Regions from separate parts of the Homo sapiens genome. Here regions 2, 3 and 4 are each linked to region 1. Evidence: promoter capture Hi-C in 16 types of primary human blood cells and fetal thymus (Javierre and others, 2016). All regions are on one chromosome and are shown on one strand. Each heading gives the region's core, a stretch centred on a gene start or on the middle of the fragment in contact. The rest is flanking DNA. Distances are from core to core; before and after follow the strand shown. Region 1 holds the start of FNIP2 (folliculin interacting protein 2). Region 2 overlaps RAPGEF2 (Rap guanine nucleotide exchange factor 2). Region 3 has its middle 17 kb from the start of SPMIP2. Region 4 holds the start of SPMIP2 (sperm microtubule inner protein 2).

Region 1 (4,507 bases), core at 852-3,351:
AAAGATTGGATTTTTGTAGCGGCCTTGAGTAGCCAATAAAATAAAATAAAAATAAAAAACAAGAAGACTGGGAGAGCTGGCTAGAGCTGTCTCCCAGAACTTTTTTGGCTAGGATTTTTGTATACTTTAAAAATCCAAAGGAGGAGGTGTGGCCAGAACCAGGATGAGGAAGAATGTGATGCTGAGAGGAAGCACAGGGAGAAAGAGGGGAGAAGGGAAGCATTTTGGTTCCTTTTGTCTCCTTTAACTGAAGTCCTGGCTTTAATAGTTTAAAATACACACTCTTCCTTTATAGTTGCCTAGTCAAAACCAAAATTGAAGATGATGGCTAGAGCAGGTTATGATTTTTTAATTGCCTCTTTTGGATGATCTTGTCTATTTGGACTGGGTTGGAACTGAAAGAGTCCTAGGAAGTGAGGAATGAGGCACAATATGTCAAATTCCTCTTCTATATGCAGTTACAAAAGCTGCTAGGCTCATGAGGAACATGCAGATTTTAGTCTGGAGAATAAAGGACATTTTCTGACCAAGGATGGAGTAAGGAAAGGTGGTGAGTTGCTGGCCACAGTATGACCTGGGACTGTATCTGAAAGTCACAACGTATAAAGCCAATACCTTCTATATAGCATCCTGACCAACACTGGCAGCCCTATGAGGTAAAGGCCTTCAGCAAACAGAAATAGCAAAGTTGCAAATTAGGGTTCTGTGTACACTCAATTGTGCAAAAGGATGATTGCTCATCAGGATAAACACTTAATCCACCATTTTAACAGTAAAAGTCCGAAGGAAACAAATGACTAAGTTTCCATTTCTACCACCTTTCTCTTACCTTTGTGAAATTTCAGCACATTATTCACAGCTAGTTCCCAACCAAGTCCAGAAACTAACACAATTAAAAAAAGAAAATGCAAAGTAAAATAGGCCCAGAATAGGTTCTTTTGATTACTTATGTTTTTGGAAATATATTTTCCTTTTTGAGTCTCCAAGAGTCCTCCTCTCAACAAGTGTAAGAGAGCCCAGGTGAGTCACTGTTCACTACTCATGGAGAAGCTAGAAGAGGCATGGTTGGGGTCTTACTAACTTTATCTCTATTTCCCATCATCGGAAAAATTCGTGAAGCCCAACGCTCTAAAACATAGATTAAGAAGTTGCTTTGAGTCTGGTAACGTGTCCTACACTGGCTGTTTAGAGCCCTGCACCACCAAGGATTAAATTCCAAAGGGGACTGGGGTGGGACAGGGCAGGAAAGCGGACTCAAACACATGAACTCCTCCCTTCCTCAAACCAAATATCTGCTGCTGATATGCCTTGATTGACTGTTAAATATGTATTAGGAAAAACAATCCCTTGCTATAAAATATCTTAAGTTTCTAAATCTATGTAGTGAGTTCTGTGTGTGTGTGTGTGTGTGTGTGTGTGTGTGTGTGTGTATGTTTTAAAGGGGGGACTTAATATTTCAAATGCAACTTCTTATATAACCATGGTATGGTGGCCCAAGACGCCAAACAGAACAAATGATTTGGATAAACAGTTTAAATTTTGTGAAAGCCTGGAGGAATCGAATTTGGACATGGAGGAAACCTGACAAAACCTTGGGTGCTATGTGATTCAAATCACAGCCCACCGAAGCGGCCACCGCGCGTACCAAGCCTTCCCCCCTAGCATACGCCTTCTGTGAACGGGCTCTTGTACCTGAACAAAGCGAGGACCCAAGTTCAGGGGCTTTGTCTCTAAAGAACAAAGATCGGCCTAGCTGCATGCTCGCTGTGCGAAAGAACCCAGGCTCCGTGGGAACCCCACGCCACTCGCGGAGCTGCGCCCCGGCGGCCGCCCTCGCCCCTCGGGCCCCTTTAAGTGCCGCGCCTGCCCCCGTCCGCGTCCCCCGCGTGCCCGGAGTACTGGGCCGCCCGCCCGCTCCTGGCCGCACCTCCCACCTCCCGCCTCCCGCCGGGGTTACGTGAGCCCGGGGCGGGCGGCCGCCGGGCCAATGGCCGCCGCCGGGGCCGCCGCGCTCCTCCCGCGCCGCCGCCGCCGCCGTGGGGCTGCGGGCTCCTCCCGCAGGAGATAACTGTCAGCGCGCGAGGCGGTGGCGGGCCGGCTCAGTCATATGACCGGCAGCCGGCGGCTCCGGCGCCGAGCAGAGTTACTCAGTCGCAGCGGCCCCGCGCTCCCGCAAGGCTGGGCGGCCGCGCCGCCGCGATGGCCCCGCCACCGCGGCCGCCGCCCCCGGCTGCGCGCTGAGCCGCCGGCCCCCCGAGCGCCACGGCCGGAGCTGCGGCGGCGGCATCATGGCCCCGACCCTGCTCCAGAAGCTCTTCAACAAAAGGGGCAGCAGCGGCAGCTCCGCGGCGGCGTCTGCCCAGGGCAGGGCTCCTAAGGAAGGACCCGCCTTTAGGTGAGGGGGCGCCGGGGGGCAATTCTGGCGCGGGACCCGAGTTGGCTTCGGTGCTCGCCGGGGAGGGGACGGGTAGGGGAAAGGGAAGGGACTGTCCAGGACGGCGCTGCCTATCGCCGGCACCTGGTCCCGGGCTTGTCAGCGTGGACGCGCCTGATCCGAGTGTGGCTCCGGACCCTCCGTGACCCTTCCTCCCGCTCTTTCTCCACAACTCAGGGTCCTTCCCCATTTCAGAGTTCTCTTGTGTTCCTTGGGGTTCCCGGGCGTGCGCTGTGCTTGGCTGTGGCGACCGGAGATTCTCCGGTTATTGGGGTGAACCCCTTCCGGGCAGAGCCGCCTGGGCACCTCTGCGGGCCCAGCAAAGCTGTGAGCTGTCATTTTGAGGGCAGCTCCAACCTATTGTGTACGTGACAGTGTTTTGAAGTTCTGAAGGAGCAACAGTCACGAAAAAGGCATCTTTCTTCTTTCTTGCCATATATGACAAGCTCTCAAACGGATGAATGAAAGTATGTAATTTCCACATCATGTGGAAGGTTGATGCCGCATGATGTGTGGAAAGGGGGAGTAAGATGCAATTATGAAATTTCCGAGATTTCAATTGATCAAAGCTGATATGTATATTTAATAGATTTGATCTCTCGAACACATACCTTTGAATATTGATAGCATTTATGGAGAGCTTACTACCTAAAATGCTTTATGTTGATTTCTGTCGTTTACTTTTCTGACAATGCGGTGAGGTGGGTGCTATTATAATTCCCATTTTACAGGTGAGGAAACTTAAAGTCACAGATAACTTAGGCGGCTTGCCCAAAATCCAGCTGTCAGTGGTAGAGCCTGTGTTTTGACCCAAGCAGTTTGACCACAGATTCCAGTCTTTAAAATCCCTATGCTATTCTGATTTCAAGGGCTAACTTTTAAAAGACGCCTTAAAATGTCCTATATTGCCTTTGAGCACAGGTATGTTGAGAAGTTTATTTAACAATTTTTCAACACATTTTAAAATTGAGCACCAACTCCCAATTCTGACACTATGCTAGGTGCTTTTTGGCCAAAATGTCTTGCAAAAACAGTTCACTGTTAAACAGATCTAGACCCAGTATAATAAACCTTTAAAAGTTTCAAGTGAAACTTTGAAATAAATTCTGGATTAAGTTTTATGTTCTAGATTTTGCTTTTCTTGAATTCCATCATTTAAAACAGTCTCTCACTGTGGTCATGTGAAAATTAAACGTGTGTGTGTGTGTGCACGCGCGCTCATGGAAGGCATATTGTGAGGACCTTAAACTCCCCAAGTTAAATTCTCATGTTTTCTTTAGGCTAACAAGCCTTATAATTTGAGTGGGAATTCTATGCCTTTTGTTAGGCTGAGTATTAGTGATGCCATGTACCTTCTCAGAATGGTAGAATTACTTCGGACCTAAGGTGTGTAATTTCGTCCCTTCCCTCCCTGTAACCCAGACTCCATCAGGGGTACAAAGCCTGGAGCGGAAGGAGCATGTTACAGGTGTCTGTACTTTGACAGCTCTTGCCAAGGACATTTAAAGCCATTTGAATGCAGGAGGAGATAGTGGCGGTTACTTGTCATTGTTTTCTGTGCTCCTTGCCTAATTGCCTACCACCATTTCCGCTATCCACAAGTTTAACTGAGTGTATTTGAACAAAAAAAATATGGCTATATTTAGGGTTTTGGGCCATATTAGGGAAATTGATTCCCACTTCATGGGAACATTTTCAGTAGTGTTCTGACTTCTCATTTGTGTATAATGAAGAACAGAAAATCGTGCCAAGTACGGTCTTTTTTTTGACCTCATTGGGATTTTCTACAAGAATTTGAGATCGATGTTTTTGGAGAATTTGGGGATCCCAGTTGAACATCCTACTTGATGAGGGCCCCCTTCAATAGTGTCCCTGATAGAGGTCACCATGGAAAAGAAAGTAAAGTAGCAGATGTGAGCAAGGATGCTGGACGATGGGAACAAACCATCCTGTGCTCACCAGACTGACAAAGGAGACCCCAAGCAAGTCTTTCCTTTTGCTCTTTTCACCTGGCTTAATTCTAAGATGCTGTGTAGCTGGCCTGGGAAAAGCTTCCAGGAAAATTTTTCTCTC
Region 2 (4,507 bases), core at 567-3,066, 360 kb after region 1:
TGCACCCTCCGCCTCTCAGGCTCAGGTGTCCTCCCACCACAGCCTCCCAAGTAGCTGGGACCATAGGCGGGCACCACCACGTCTGGCTAATTTTTGTATTTTTTGTAGAGACGGGGTTTCACCATGTTGCCCAGGCTGGTCTCAAGCTTTCGGGCTCAAGCAATCTGCCCAAAGTGCTGGGATTACAGGCGCAGCCACACCCAGCCAGCTATTATTATTTTAACTTTACCTTTTTAAATAGCATGTTTTACTCTCCAGGTTTATTTGAAAATAATACAGAGTTTCGCGTGTTGTTTTGTGTGTGTGTGTGTGAGAGAGAGAGAGAGAGAGAGAGAGAGAGAGAGACAGAATTTCGCCCTTGTTGCCCAGGCTGAAGTGCAATGGCACGATCTCGGCTCACCGCAACCTCCGCCTCCTAGGTTCAAGCGATTCTGCTGCCTCATCTTCCTGAATAGCTGGGATTACAGGCATATGCCACCACACCCAGCTAATTGTGTATTTTTAGTAGAGACAGGGTTTCTCCATGTTGGTCAGGCTGGTCTCGAACTCCCAACCTCAGGTGATCCGCCTATCTTGGCCTCCCAAAGTGCTGGGATTACAGGCATGAGCCACCGCGCCCAGCCTCGCATGGTTTTAATAACGTTTAAGATTGATTGATTGCTGATTTTGTCAGCAGATACTATGTTAAAGACTTAAATGTATTATCTTGATATCTTTGTCTGATTAATTGCTATTTTTTTTTTTTTTTTTTTTTTTTTTTAGCTTTTGCTGTTGTTGTTTTTGTTCAGTCAGCTATACTATTTGGAGTTTTTACTAGTTGAAGAGAAATATAAGTGCTAAGTGCAGTTAAAGTTCTTTGGGCTTTGGGAACCTTGGGCTAGAGAACTTTGGGCTTGATTAACGTCTTTCGCGTTGTTGTGTACTTGGGAAAGTTATCGGGTTTTCTCAGCAGTCCTACAGCCCGGCATCTCCTTGTTTGTCAGAAACAAAGACTTGGCATACTCGATATTTCCATTCCTTAAGAAGTTTTAACATAGAATTACTTTGTTAATACTTAGCCTTTCTTTGTAGGGCCATAGGTGGGAACTTTGGTTCTCTATGCTAACTGAAAAAGCCAGAGGAAATGTGTGGGAAGTTACAGTCTCCTTACCAAGAGGATCCAGATTCAAATCTGGATACTTGCAACAAAAGTCCAGATTTTAATGGGTATATTGTTTGAAACTATCAAGTTGGAGAGTAAAATATTCCCGGTGTTTTTGCTTATCTAACTGTTGCCATTAGGATAATGTCTTAGCTTGAGGGTGAACTTTGTTATTGGACCACACTATTTAGAGAGGGGCTAGTTGGTCTAGAATTTATCAAGAATTGAGAAACATTTATTCAGATATATTCATAAGCCTGTGTCTTGCACAGAAGTACGTTATCTTCAGGTTATCTAGCTCTAACACCATTTTATGATCGTACTTCACAGTCTCAACTGCAGAATGAAAGAGTTACTTTGCTAGATTTTGGAATGTGGGCTCTCAAGGAGACTTAAGTTCTTCCGAAATTCTAAAATAATCCATCCAGATCCTATGGTTGTGATGGGTGTGTGTATCTGTGTTTAAATGATGTTTTTGAGTCCTTTGGTTGTAGAGGACAGTGTCTCCTTGTGTCTGTGGCAAGGAGTCTTGTTTGTTTCTCTTTGGTCCTTACAAGACATAGAAAGGGCTGTCTCTCCTTTAGGGATAGATGAGCACCGTACTCCAGGACAGAAAGAGGTAGATGGTTTTTAAAGGCGTGGCAAGTTGTTGGCTTTTTAAAATCTGACTTTTCTCATTTATGCCTCCTTTTTCTAAATTATAGCTTTTTCTTCCAAACCATTCTTTGTTGTCTATTTCTCACACTCCTTATTTTCTTCATTTTTGTGGGTGGTGGGTCAGAAAGAAAGGTTAAATACAGTCTTTTACGTTGATTGCTCATTTTCTTTTGGTAGTTGAAAGTTATGTGCGTTTTAAGTGTATATGATAATGTTTTTTCTTTCTGGAATGTTTTTAGTGTTCTAGAAATGTTTATAACTTGTACCTAAATTAATATTTTAAATATTATATACTTAGTTTTTTTTTTTTTGCATAGTTCACATGTCAAAAAGTATAAAAAGTTATACAGTGCAGTCTTACTTTCCTCTCCCACACCTGCCTAACTCCCAGTTCCCTTCTGGTAGTGAGTGATTTTCATTGCTTGTTTATTCTTCCCAAAAATTAAAAAAATTCATACACAGATCCATAAAAACATATTTTTCTTCTTCTCAAGTTATATCTACATACATATCTGCCCTTTTATTTATTTAATGTAAAGTATAGTTTGGAAAGATGTATACTGATCTTTCCATATCAGTACATGAAGAGCTCCTGTGTGTGTGATTAACCATTACAGAATATCACAGGGCTGCAATGAATACCCCTCACATACCTGACCTGCAAAATTTCTGCTGGGCCAAAGTGTGCTTGCATTTCTAATTTTGCTTGTTGTTGTAGAAGTGGCTTACAGGACTACTAGCATTGTATTAGTGCATTTCTTTTCCTTTATTTTTAAAATATAAACTTGTAATATATATGGTAAGATTAACCTTTTTAAGTGTAAAGTTGTATGAATTTTTTTTTTTTTTCAGAGTTTTGCTCTTGTTCCCAGGCTGGAGTGTAGTGGTGCGATCTCAGCTCACTGCACCCTCCACCTCCCAGGTTCAAGCAGTTCTCCTGCCTCAGCCTCCCGAGTAGCTGGGATTACGGGCGCCTGCCACCACGCGTGGCTACTTTTTTGTATATTATTTATTTATTTTTCGGAGTCTGGCTCTGTCACCCATGCTGGAGTGCAGTGGCATGATCTCGGCTCACTGCAAGCTCCACCTCCCGGGTTCATGCCATTCTCCTGCCTCAGCCTCCCGAGTAGCTGGGACTACAGGTGCCTGCCACCACGCCCAGCTAATTTTTTGTATTTTTAGTAGAGACGGGGTTTCACCGTGTTAGCCAGGATGGTCTCGATCTCCTGACCTTGTGATCCGCCCGCCTCGGCCTCCCAAAGTCCTGGGATTACAGGCGTGAGCCACCGCGCCTGGCCAATTTTTTGTATTTTTAATAGTGATGGGGTTTCACCATGTTGGCCAGGCTGGTCTTGAACTCCTGACCTCAAGTGATCCACCCGCCTGGACCTCCCAAAGTGCCAGGATTACAGGTGTGAGCCACCACGCCTGGCAATTCTGTGAGTTTTAATTTGTATACAGTCATGTCACCACTGCAACTGCAATCAAAATTAAGACATTTTCATTGCCCAGAAAAGGTCCCTTGTGCCTTTGTGCCTTTTTGTAGGCAGTCCTCTCCGTCTAGCCTGTCTCTGGCAACCAGTGATCTGATTTCTATCCTTATAGTTTTGCCTTTTTAAGAATGTCTTGTACTGTACATGGAGTCATATAGTGTACAGTCTTTTTTGCATGACTTTTTTCACTAAGCACAAGCTTTTGAGATTCAGCCATAGTGTTGTATGTATCAATGGTTTGCTTCTTTTTATTGCTGAATAGTATTTCATTGTATGGATGTACTGAAATTTGTTTATTCTTTCTCCAAGTGATGAATATTTAGGTTGCCTCTAGTTTTTGGCAGTGATGAATGAAGCTGCTATAAATGTTCACATATTAATATGGACACATGTTTTCCCCTTCTTGATAGATACTTAAATGTGAGATTGTTAGGATATATGATAAGTGTATGTTTAACTTTTTGAAAAACTAACAAACTCCTTCCCAAAGCAGCTATATTGTATTTTATTTCTGCCAGCAATGTACAAAAGTTTCAGTTCTGCATCCTCGTCAGCACTTACACGTGTCAGTTTTATTTTGTAAGTCATCTTATGGGCATGTGATGGTATTTAATTCTGTAATTTAGAAACAACTTTATTGAGATATAATTCACATACCATACAATTCACCCATTTAAAGTATATAATCAGTGGTTTTTAGTAAATTCCTAGATATATGCAGCCATCACCAGAGTCAACTTTAGGACATTTTATCAACCTCAAAAAGAAAATTCCTGTACCCTCATCCTCTATCCCTTCTGTCCTAAGCAACTACCAGTTTACTGTCTGTCTATGTGTTTTCCTATTCTGGACATTTCATGTAAATAGTTTATATGTGGTCTTTGGGACTGGCTTCTTTCATTTAGCATAATGTTTTCAAGATTCATCCATGTTGTAGCATGTATCAGCAGTTCATTTCTTTAATTTTTTTTCCTTTTGTTTTTGAGACAGGAGTCTCACTCCGTTGCCCAGGCTGGAGTGCAGTGGTGTGATTATGGCTCACTGCAGCCTTGATCTTCCAGGCTCAAGTGATTCTCCTGTTTCAGCCTCCTGAGTAGCTGGTACTATAGGTGTGTGCCACCATGCCCAGCTAATTTTTATATTTTTTTTGTAGAGATGGTGTTTCACCATGTTGCCCAAGCTCGTCTCGAACTTCTGGGCTCAAGCAGTCCGCCCA
Region 3 (4,507 bases), core at 1,335-3,834, 280 kb after region 1:
GTAGAAAATGAGCCTTAAAGCTTCTTGATAGATATAAGGCAATCTCTTGATAACATGTCAAGTAACTTAGACGTTACTTTTAAAAATGTGCATTGCTAAAAGGTGCCCGTTAGTGTCAACACATATTCTCTGGCCCTGGGCTGCTCTTTTTGACCCTGCAGGGGAAGCCATGAAAATAAAGTGAATGCTGGCATTAATCAAACCAGTCTTTATTTTGACAGCATTTGGAATTCATTCTTCTCACTGGGTGGTACTGCCACCACTGTATTTTTTTTTTTTTTTTTTTGAAATGTGCTTCCTGATAACTACTGTCAGGCTTGAGAAGTGGACAGGTGTGACTCCCTAACTTGAGGACAGGCCTGCTGTATTGAAAGGGAAAAGAATGGAAAGGGAGGTGTGATAGCATTTTTAATAAATATGTCTGCAATTCATGATAGTGTGAGTATAATATAAAAAGAAGGGAGGGGGAAGAAAGGGGGATGGGTTAGGAGTAAGGATCACCATATCCAGTAACAGCCCAGACTCAGAGAGCCTTAAGATTGGATAAATGTAAACAGCATTTTATTGTTTAAAATGTTAAGATAGCCAGGCATGATGGCTCACACGTGTAATCCCAGCACTTTATGAGGCTGAAGCAGGAGGATTGCTTGAACCCAGGAGTTCGAGACCAGCCTGGGCAACATGGCTAAACCCCATCTCTACAAAACATAAAAAATTAGCCATGGTGTGTGCCTGTAGTCACAAGCTACCCAGGAGGCTGAGGTGAGTGGATCACTTGAACCCAGGAGTTCAAGGCTGCAGTGAGTTATGATTATAACACTACATGCTAACTTGGGTGACAGAGCAAGAACTCATCCGTTAAAAAAAAAAAGCTATAAAAAAAAATCTTGGCCAGGCGCCGTGGTTCACGCCTGTAATCCTAGCATTTTGGGAGGCTGAGCCAGGTGGATCATCAGGTCAGGAAATCGAGACCATCCTGGCCAACATGGTGAAACCCCATCTCTACTAAAAATACAAAAATTAGCCAGACATGGTGGCGGGTGCCTGTAGTCTCAGCTACTCAGGAGGCTGAGGCAGGAGAATCACCTGAACCCAGGAGGCAGAGGTTGCAGTGAGCCAAGATCGCGCCACTGCACTCCAGCCTGGGGGACAGAGGGAAAGACTCCGTCTCAGAAAAAAAAAAAAAAAATCTTAAAGATGTTTCCAAAAAAGTGCTATTCTTTGCATTTTCTTACAGAAACATAAAAGCAAAGTGGCTGTATAACAGAGTAACCAGAGTTTTGGTAAATGTGGTTTGAATTATGTTCAGATGAATGCAAAGTGATATGTTTTCTGGAAAAGGTATCTAGCACATAGCTTTTTTATTGCTTGAAACTGCTTAAGATTTCACATGGACTTTTGGGGGGAGCTTCGTCCTTCTTGAAAATCTAATACCACCAGACTGTAAACTGCTCAGAAGAAAGGATTACACCCACCATTTCCCATGCCTCTCCCCACAGTGCCTGGTACTTCGTACACAATAGAAACTAAGAAATATTGTGTCTGAATTACTAAAGCGTCACATTCAAAGCACTTTCATTACCAAATGCAAAGCAGAGACCATTTATACTATGGTTATTTCCAAAATCTCTTGCTGCTAATTAATGAACTCTTATCTGTCATGAGATGTAACATCTATTTAGAATGATGGAAATAGAATTTCTCTCTTTCATTCTTTTGTCATTCTCATTCTACCATTCATTTATTTCTTCAATAGCAAACACATTTGCTTTTTATTTATTACTCAGGTTTTTGCTCCTAGCATAGTGAAACTGTCTGCAATGTCAGAAGAGATGTGTTAAGCTCTGGTACCCAGCTGCGTGCTGAAATATAGTAAACGACTGGCATTCTTATCGCAGTTTCTGTGGCCTATTACTCTTTGTTTCATTACTGTTTAATATTTACTAAGAGTGCTGTCAGCTCCTGCGCTTTCATTTCCTCTCCTTCACAGGCATCTCCCCCTCCTTCCTTGCTCTTCCTTGCCCTGCCCCCACACCCTCCAGCTACCTACTATCAAGCTCACTGGAATTCTGGATGCTAAAAAAAAAACAAAAACAAAAACCAAATTTCCCTTGCCATCTTTCATTTGCAAGATTCCCCCCAGAAAGTGCAAATGATTCGGATGGAGGGAAGCAGACAAAAGAGATGAGTTCTCCAGGCCAAGTACATAGAGCTAAAGCAGACGTCTCACACTGACGGCCAGTGTACCTAGTTCGCACAATGTTTTGATTTCTTTTTTTTCCAGATGAACCAATATCAAAATATCAGGCCTTGTGTGCTAATAGAAATGTCCAAATTCTCTTAAAAAATTGGAAGACCTGGACCTACATTCCTGCATGGTAACAATCAGCTACAGCAGAGTGTCCCATGCTCCATGAGTTAAGTAGACCCTGAAAACAACAACAACAACAACAACAACCAGCAACCAACAACCAACACAACCCCTGCACACGGTAAAAAAGATTTATCTGCTCAGATGCCACAAACTCTGCAACTAGCCAGTTGTGCAGGGTAAAGCCGACTGAAACAGTGAGAAGTTTTGTGGTTGGAACTTGATTCCCCTGAGGCTCCATCTTCTCTTCCGTAGATGGGGTAGTGATGCTGCTATCTGTCCCCATGGGATTATCTCAAGACTATTATTATTATTATTATTATTTTATTATTATTATTATTTGAGGCGGAGTTTTGCTCTTGTTGCCTAGGCTGGAGTGCAATGGTGCGATCTCGGCTCACTGCAACCTCTGCCTTCCAGGTTCAAGCCATTCTCCTGCCTCAGCCTCCTGAGTAGCTGGAATTACAGGCGCCTGCCACCACGCCTGGCTAATTTTTTGTATTTTTAGTAGAGACGGGGGTTTCTCCATGTTGGCCAGGCTGGTCTTGAACTCCTGACCTTAGGTGATCTGCCTACCTCAGCCACCCAAAGTGCTGGGATTACAGATGTGAGCCACTACGCCTGGTCGACTATTATTATTATTATTATTTTTTTTTTTTTTTTTTTGAGACGGAGTCTCGCTCTGTCGCCCAGGCTGGAGTGCAGTGGCGGGATCTCGGCTCACTGCAAGCTCCGCCTCCCGGGTTCACGCCATTCTCCTGCCTCAGCCTCCCAAGTAGCTGGGACTACAGGCGCCCGCCACTACGCCCGGCTAATTTTTTGTATTTTTAGTAGAGACGGGGTTTCACCGTTTTAGCCGGGATGGTCTCGATCTCCTGACCTCGTGATCCGCCCGCCTCGGCCTCCCAAAGTGCTGGGATTACAGGCGTGAGCCACCGCGCCCGGCCGACTATTATTTTTTAAAATATGATTTGAGTGACAGTATCGACTACATGGCTGCTAGTTTTTCTGGGTTCATTCTTTTGGGTTAAATGGTATCTACTTGATGCTCCCCCTTTTAAAATACAAGCATACACGGATGGGTAATATATTGAGTTACAAATGCACCTAGGTTGAGTTACACCTAGGAGAATACAAGGATGGCTGTGGGCCGGTAGGGTCCCCTAGCCATGAACCCCACACCTCACATTCTTAGTTTCCCCTAGCCCGTGCCTTCCTATTTTAGGTCTCTTCCAGGATCTTTTGGTGCCTTCTGAAAACTCAATGTGTGTTTTGTTTCTGAGTTCCCTTCTACCACCCCATCATTTTAAGTCATTCCTGGGAGATATGGACCTTACTAGTCCATTCTGTAGGAGCCATTCTAAGCAGACTGAATCCATGGGTGGTATAAGGTTGGCAGAGATTTCCCTTCCTTCTTTTCTTCCTCCCTCCCTCCTTCCTTCCTCTTCTTTCTTTCCTCTTCTTTTTCTTTCTTTCCTTCAATTAGAAACAAATCCAAGACTGAGCACAGTGGTTCATACCTGTAATCTCAGCACTTTGGGAGGCTGAGGTGGGAGGATTGCTTGAACCCAAGAATAAACCAGGCTGGGCAACATAGTGAAACTTGTCTCAAAAAAAAAAAAAGAGAGAAAGAGAAAGAAAAGAAAATAAACAAATCCAGATTTCAGCAATTCATTTTTTAAAGAGATGGAATCTTGTTTTTTTGCCCAGGCTGGAGTATAGTGGTGCAATCGTCACTCACTGCAGTCTCCTAATGCCTGGACTCAAGCAGTCTTCCTGCTTCACCTCCTCAGCCTCTGAATAGCTGGGACTACAGGTGCATGCCATTACACCTGGTTAATTTTTTTTTATTTTTGTAGAGACAGGGTCTCACTATGTTGCCCAGACTGTTCTTGAACTCCTGTCCTCAGGTGAACCTCCCGCCTTGACCTCCCAAAGTGTTGGGATTACAAAGTGTTGGGTGGTTGTGAACCACGGTGCCCAGACTATTTCAGCAATTTTTTTCCAATTAGTTTATCATTATTCCAGCTCAAGTCTTTCCTTAAAAATCATATCATAATGACCTCCCCTCCTCCATCTTGCATGGATGCAGGAAATGTAGCCCTAACTCCTAGGATTTCTGAGAAGCCAGGGATC
Region 4 (4,507 bases), core at 1,293-3,792, 260 kb after region 1:
ACGTCCAGCCAAAATTTCACTTTAAAATTAAATTAGAAATCAATAAAAATCCTATGAAACTCTTAAAAGTGCTCTAAAGTAACTCTCAGAATTGCTGCGAAATTCCTCAGTATTTTCTCATCCTCTACATGGTTTTTTTTACATTATTGACATCCAAAATAATTTCTAAATGATTTCTCATGATATTTTGTTGTCATATTAATTATTAATAGTGACAAGATATTTTTCTTGTTTTTATCACAATTACACAATATTTGCATGGATTAAATCAATCTTTTGTTTGCCTAGCCTGGGTACTTCACTTAAACTAATGTTTTTATGAAAACACGGACTTTATATTAAAAACAGTTCCAAACATGGAGGAAAGAGCTCCAAGCTCCAATAGGTTAGAAAGGTGGTAAGTGATGGGCCTTATAGGAGTTAAAATTATTATTCTTGAACAGCTCAAAAGTTTGATTTCTGTGAACTGACTGCAGTACCATCTAAGACATAAGCATCCCTAAAGAGTTGAACTTGGCTATAATCAAGCCTCTAGAGCCAAATTCAGTTTACAGAGAATAAAGGAACAAGTTAAATGATATGAGAAGGAAGTAATTGACAAATTCGGAACGTTGGACATTTCTGCTGCATAACTGATCCAGTTTCTGCAACAAGTAAATGGCAGGGAAAAAAGAAGGGAAGACTGCACCAGTTTAAAATAGACAAAAAGAGAAAACACAACTGAATGCAATGTGTGTTGGATCCTTATTCTCAAAATCAACTGTAAAAATACATTTTAGAGACAATCAGGAAAATTTTGTTATGGAGTTGTTAATTACATGATGCCAAATGATAGTTATTAATTTTGTTAGGTGCAGTCACGGCAATGTGACTATGTAAGAATATGTTCATATTTTTTCAGATGCACAATAAAATATGTAAGTGAAATAATATGATATCTGGGCTTAAAATATTTTTACAAGAAAAATACGAGAGATGTGAGTCAAATGTGGCAAAATTTTGATAAATGTTGAATATGGGTGACAGGTAAGTGGGAGTTCATTGGCGTGTGTTTTAAAATAGTCACAATAAAATTTGTAAAAGGCAAAAGCAAAAAAGGATTCATATCTACTTCTTTGAAGTAATAAAAATGATTTTAAAAAATATTGATGGGGGCCGGTTGTGGTGGCTCATGCCTGTAATCCCAGCACTTTGGGAGGCTGAGGCGGGCAGATCACCGGAGGTCAGGAGTTTGAGACCAGCCTGGCCAACATGGTGAAACCCCATCTCTACTAAAAATACAAAAAATTAGTGGGCATGGTGGCTCACGTCTGTAATTCCAGCTACTTAGGAGGCTGAGGCACGAGAATCACTTGAACCCTGGAGGGAGAGACTGCAGTGAGCTGAGATCATACCACTGCACTCCAGCCTGAGCAACAGAGGGAGACTGTCTCAAAAAAAAAAATTGTTGGGCTTTAAATACGTATACATTGTTCATAGTATATACAATTCTCTAAAGCTTGTGGCATTAATAAGTTATATATCTGTTTGTATCTTTCACCTGCTAATTCTGCTCTCTCTATATATACCACATGAAAATAAGAGAACAAGAAAAATAATTTATGCAAAGTATTCATACAAATTTGTAACAGTAAAAATTAGGAAATTATAAAATACAGGAGGCTGTGAAGCTAAGTATTATATGTCAGTATAATGAAAGGCAGAAATCTATCAAAGGTGACAACAATTTGAACTATGTAAATACATAAAACTAAGTATATACACTGGTGTAAGTTAGAAGAAATTTTAAGTGTTAATTAAGACTCTTGCACAGTTCCAAATGACAGAAAACCCAACCCAAACTGGCTAAGGAAAAGAGGAGATTTATTGGCTGATGAAAATTAAAACTTTAAAAGGCACAAAAATCTCTTCAAAATAGATTATAGACCTAAATGAAAACGTAACATTGTAAAATGTCTAAAAGAAAACACAGGATAAAAATCTAAATGACCTTTCTTTTTTTTTTTTTTTGGTAAAAAAGTCAAAAACAGACAATACCAAAGGCTGACAAGGACACAAAGCAACAAGGACTCTCATTCATTGCTGATGGACATGCAAAATAGTATAGCTAGTTTAGAAGACAGTTTGGCTTAACACAGGATCCAGCAATTACTCTCCTAGGTATTTACCAAATTGATTTGAAAACATATCCATGCAAAAGGCTGCACATAAATGTACATAGAAGCATTTCTCACAATTGCCAAAAACTGGAAGCCACCAAGATGTCTTTCGATAGGGGAAGGGATGAACAAATTGTGACACATCCACACAGTGAAATATTATTCAGTGGTAAAAAGAAATAAGCTATCAAACCATGAAAAGATGTGGAGAAGCCTTAAAATGATATTGATGAGGAAATGAAGCCAATCTGAAAAGACTACATACTGTATAACTCCAGCTCTGTGACATTCAAGAAAAGGCAAAACTGTGGAGACAGTGAAAAGATCAGTGGTTGCCAGGAGCTAGGGGGAAAGGGGGAGGGGGGAATGAATAGGTGAAGCACAAGAGATTTTTTAAGTGGTGAAACCATAACGTATGGTACTATAATGGTGAATACATGGTCCTATTAATTTGTCAAGACCCCCATATATTTAATAGCATAAAAAGCAAACCTTAATGGATGCAAATTAAAAAAAATTATTTACGAGATTGTAGGATTTCAGGAAGGAATTCAGACTGTGACAAGAAAATCTAACTGTATTACAAGTGCATAAAACAACCTTACTGAAGAGGCTAGAAAGAAAATGTGCAGACTTAAGTAACTTTGGAAATGAATAGAGTTTATAAGAATAAAGGCAAAAGGAATTGCAGATAAGCAGTGTACTCTTGTTGACAAAGTCCTTCTCACAGGAGTAAAAAAGAGGTAAGAGTGAGGAAAGAGATGTTTTTCCCAAAGCCAAGTGAGTCACAAGAAGGGGAGTGGATGAGATGGATGATGAGCAACACAAATCATAAATGCCCACCATAAATATGCATTTGATTATTTTTCTGTAACATTGTAAAATATGCTCACACTTTGGAAAAAAAGAAAAAAAGGCCAGGTTCACGCCTGGAATCCCGACACAGGTGGGTGGATCACTTGAGGTCAGGAGTTCGAGACCAGCCTAGCCAACATGGTGAAACCCCATTTCTACTAAAAGTACAAAATAAATAAATAAATAAACAACCACATGTGGTGGCATGTGCCTATAGTCCTAGCTACTCGGGAGACTGAGGCAGGAGAAACACTTGAACCTGGGAGGTGGAGGGTGCAGAGAGCCCAGATCGTGCCATTGCACCCTAGTCTGGGCAACAGGGCGAGACTCTGTCTCAAAAAATAAATAATTTGGAAAAAAAGGAAATAAAATGAAGTTTAGTTTATGCCTTATAGACTTACCACAACTAGTCATCTTCTATTTTTTAGATATTATTATAATTTCACACACACTGCCCAAATCATTTAAAGTAAGCTGAATGAACAAAACTCAAACCAATCACTTTACTAGGTTTAATGCATATCCTGCTCAAATTTTTATCAAGCAAATATGTCAAGTTTATAATGTTATGAGAAGCTTAAATCAGTGTTAATAAAAATTCGATGAAAAGTATGTTTTTTATTACATCAAAGAAGTTTCTCTTGCACAAACCATAAAAGCTATGCTAATTCAAATATTCCTTTGTGAAAGTTACCTCAGATATAGTGACAACTGCTGTGTTAAAGACATGTTTATGGCAACAAGATGATGATGATCAGACTGAGTGGGCATAATGAGATAGCAGTATCATGTAAATTAAATGTAGGTGGGTTGGGCATGGTGGCTGATGCCTGTAATCCCAGCACTTTGGGAGGCCTATGCAGGCAGATCACCTGAGGTCAGGAGTTCAAGGCCAGCCTGGCCAACATGGTGAAACCCTCATCTTTACAAAAATACAAAAATTAGCTGGGCATGATGGCAGATGCCTGTAATCCCAGCTACTCAGGAAGCTGAGGCTGGAGAATCTCTTGAACCCAGGTGGCGGAGGTTGCAGTGAGCCGAGATCGCGCCATTGTACTCTAGCCTGGGCGACAGAGCGAGACTCTGTCTCAAAAAAAAAAACCCAAAAAACAAACAAAAACAAAAAACATATGTGATCATTGCATTGTTATATCCATTATATAAAAATCATATATGTGAGAGAAAAAGCAAATTTAGATCTCCTTGTGAAAGCAAACACAAAAACTATTTACCTGTAAAAATCATTTGTTTTCCCACAGTAGTAGATGTTGGCTTTTGGTATGATACAGATGCCATGGCTAAAGTCTTAACCGTGCTACTGGATTTTCTTCTTCGGCTTCTTCAAATCAGTTAAGCTGCACCAGAAAGAACGAAAGACTCTGCAGTCTTTCCTCTCCCTGCTTGTGACCTGCACCAGGTGGTTGCTAATGACTCTTTATGACAGGGAGATAGAATGTTCCTCCTTGCAGAGTTCTGCATTCCAATCTCCAAGA

Evidence for each region. The method cuts DNA at HindIII sites, captures the fragments that hold promoters and counts their contacts. A CHiCAGO score of 5 or more calls a contact.
Region 2: a fragment that was not itself captured here is called in contact with the fragment with the promoter of FNIP2 in region 1 in 1 of 17 cell types (total CD8 T cells); the score reaches 8.6 in total CD8 T cells.
Region 3: a contact is called between a fragment that was not itself captured here and the fragment with the promoter of FNIP2 in region 1, in 2 of 17 cell types (non-activated CD4 T cells and total B cells). The highest score is 5.3, in non-activated CD4 T cells.
Region 4: a contact is called between a fragment that was not itself captured here and the fragment with the promoter of FNIP2 in region 1, in 1 of 17 cell types (naive CD4 T cells). The highest score is 5.0, in naive CD4 T cells.

What each region holds. Positions count from the first base shown.
Region 1 is chr4:158,766,925-158,771,431 of GRCh38, forward strand. FNIP2 (folliculin interacting protein 2) reads left to right here and starts at 2,102. Exons shown (of 17, transcript NM_020840.3): 1 at 2,102-2,395. The coding sequence starts at 2,289. RefSeq lists a silencer at 1,843-2,052 and an enhancer at 2,010-2,747. The HindIII fragment of the contact is 6,862 bases long and covers 1-4,483 here.
Region 2 is chr4:159,130,787-159,135,293 of GRCh38, forward strand. The region is part of intron 1 of RAPGEF2 (Rap guanine nucleotide exchange factor 2); the gene reads left to right. Among named protein-coding and RNA genes, the nearest start is that of MIR3688-1, 4.1 kb to the left of the region's middle. The HindIII fragment of the contact is 3,344 bases long and covers 145-3,488 here.
Region 3 is chr4:159,049,938-159,054,444 of GRCh38, forward strand. It overlaps a transcript of SPMIP2 not described here. Among named protein-coding and RNA genes, the nearest start is that of SPMIP2, 17 kb to the left of the region's middle. The HindIII fragment of the contact is 5,133 bases long and covers 19-4,507 here.
Region 4 is chr4:159,030,787-159,035,293 of GRCh38, forward strand. It overlaps SPMIP2 (sperm microtubule inner protein 2), which reads right to left and starts at 4,443. Exons shown (of 5, transcript NM_152543.3): 1 at 4,247-4,443. The coding sequence starts at 4,310. The HindIII fragment of the contact is 2,092 bases long and covers 1,497-3,588 here.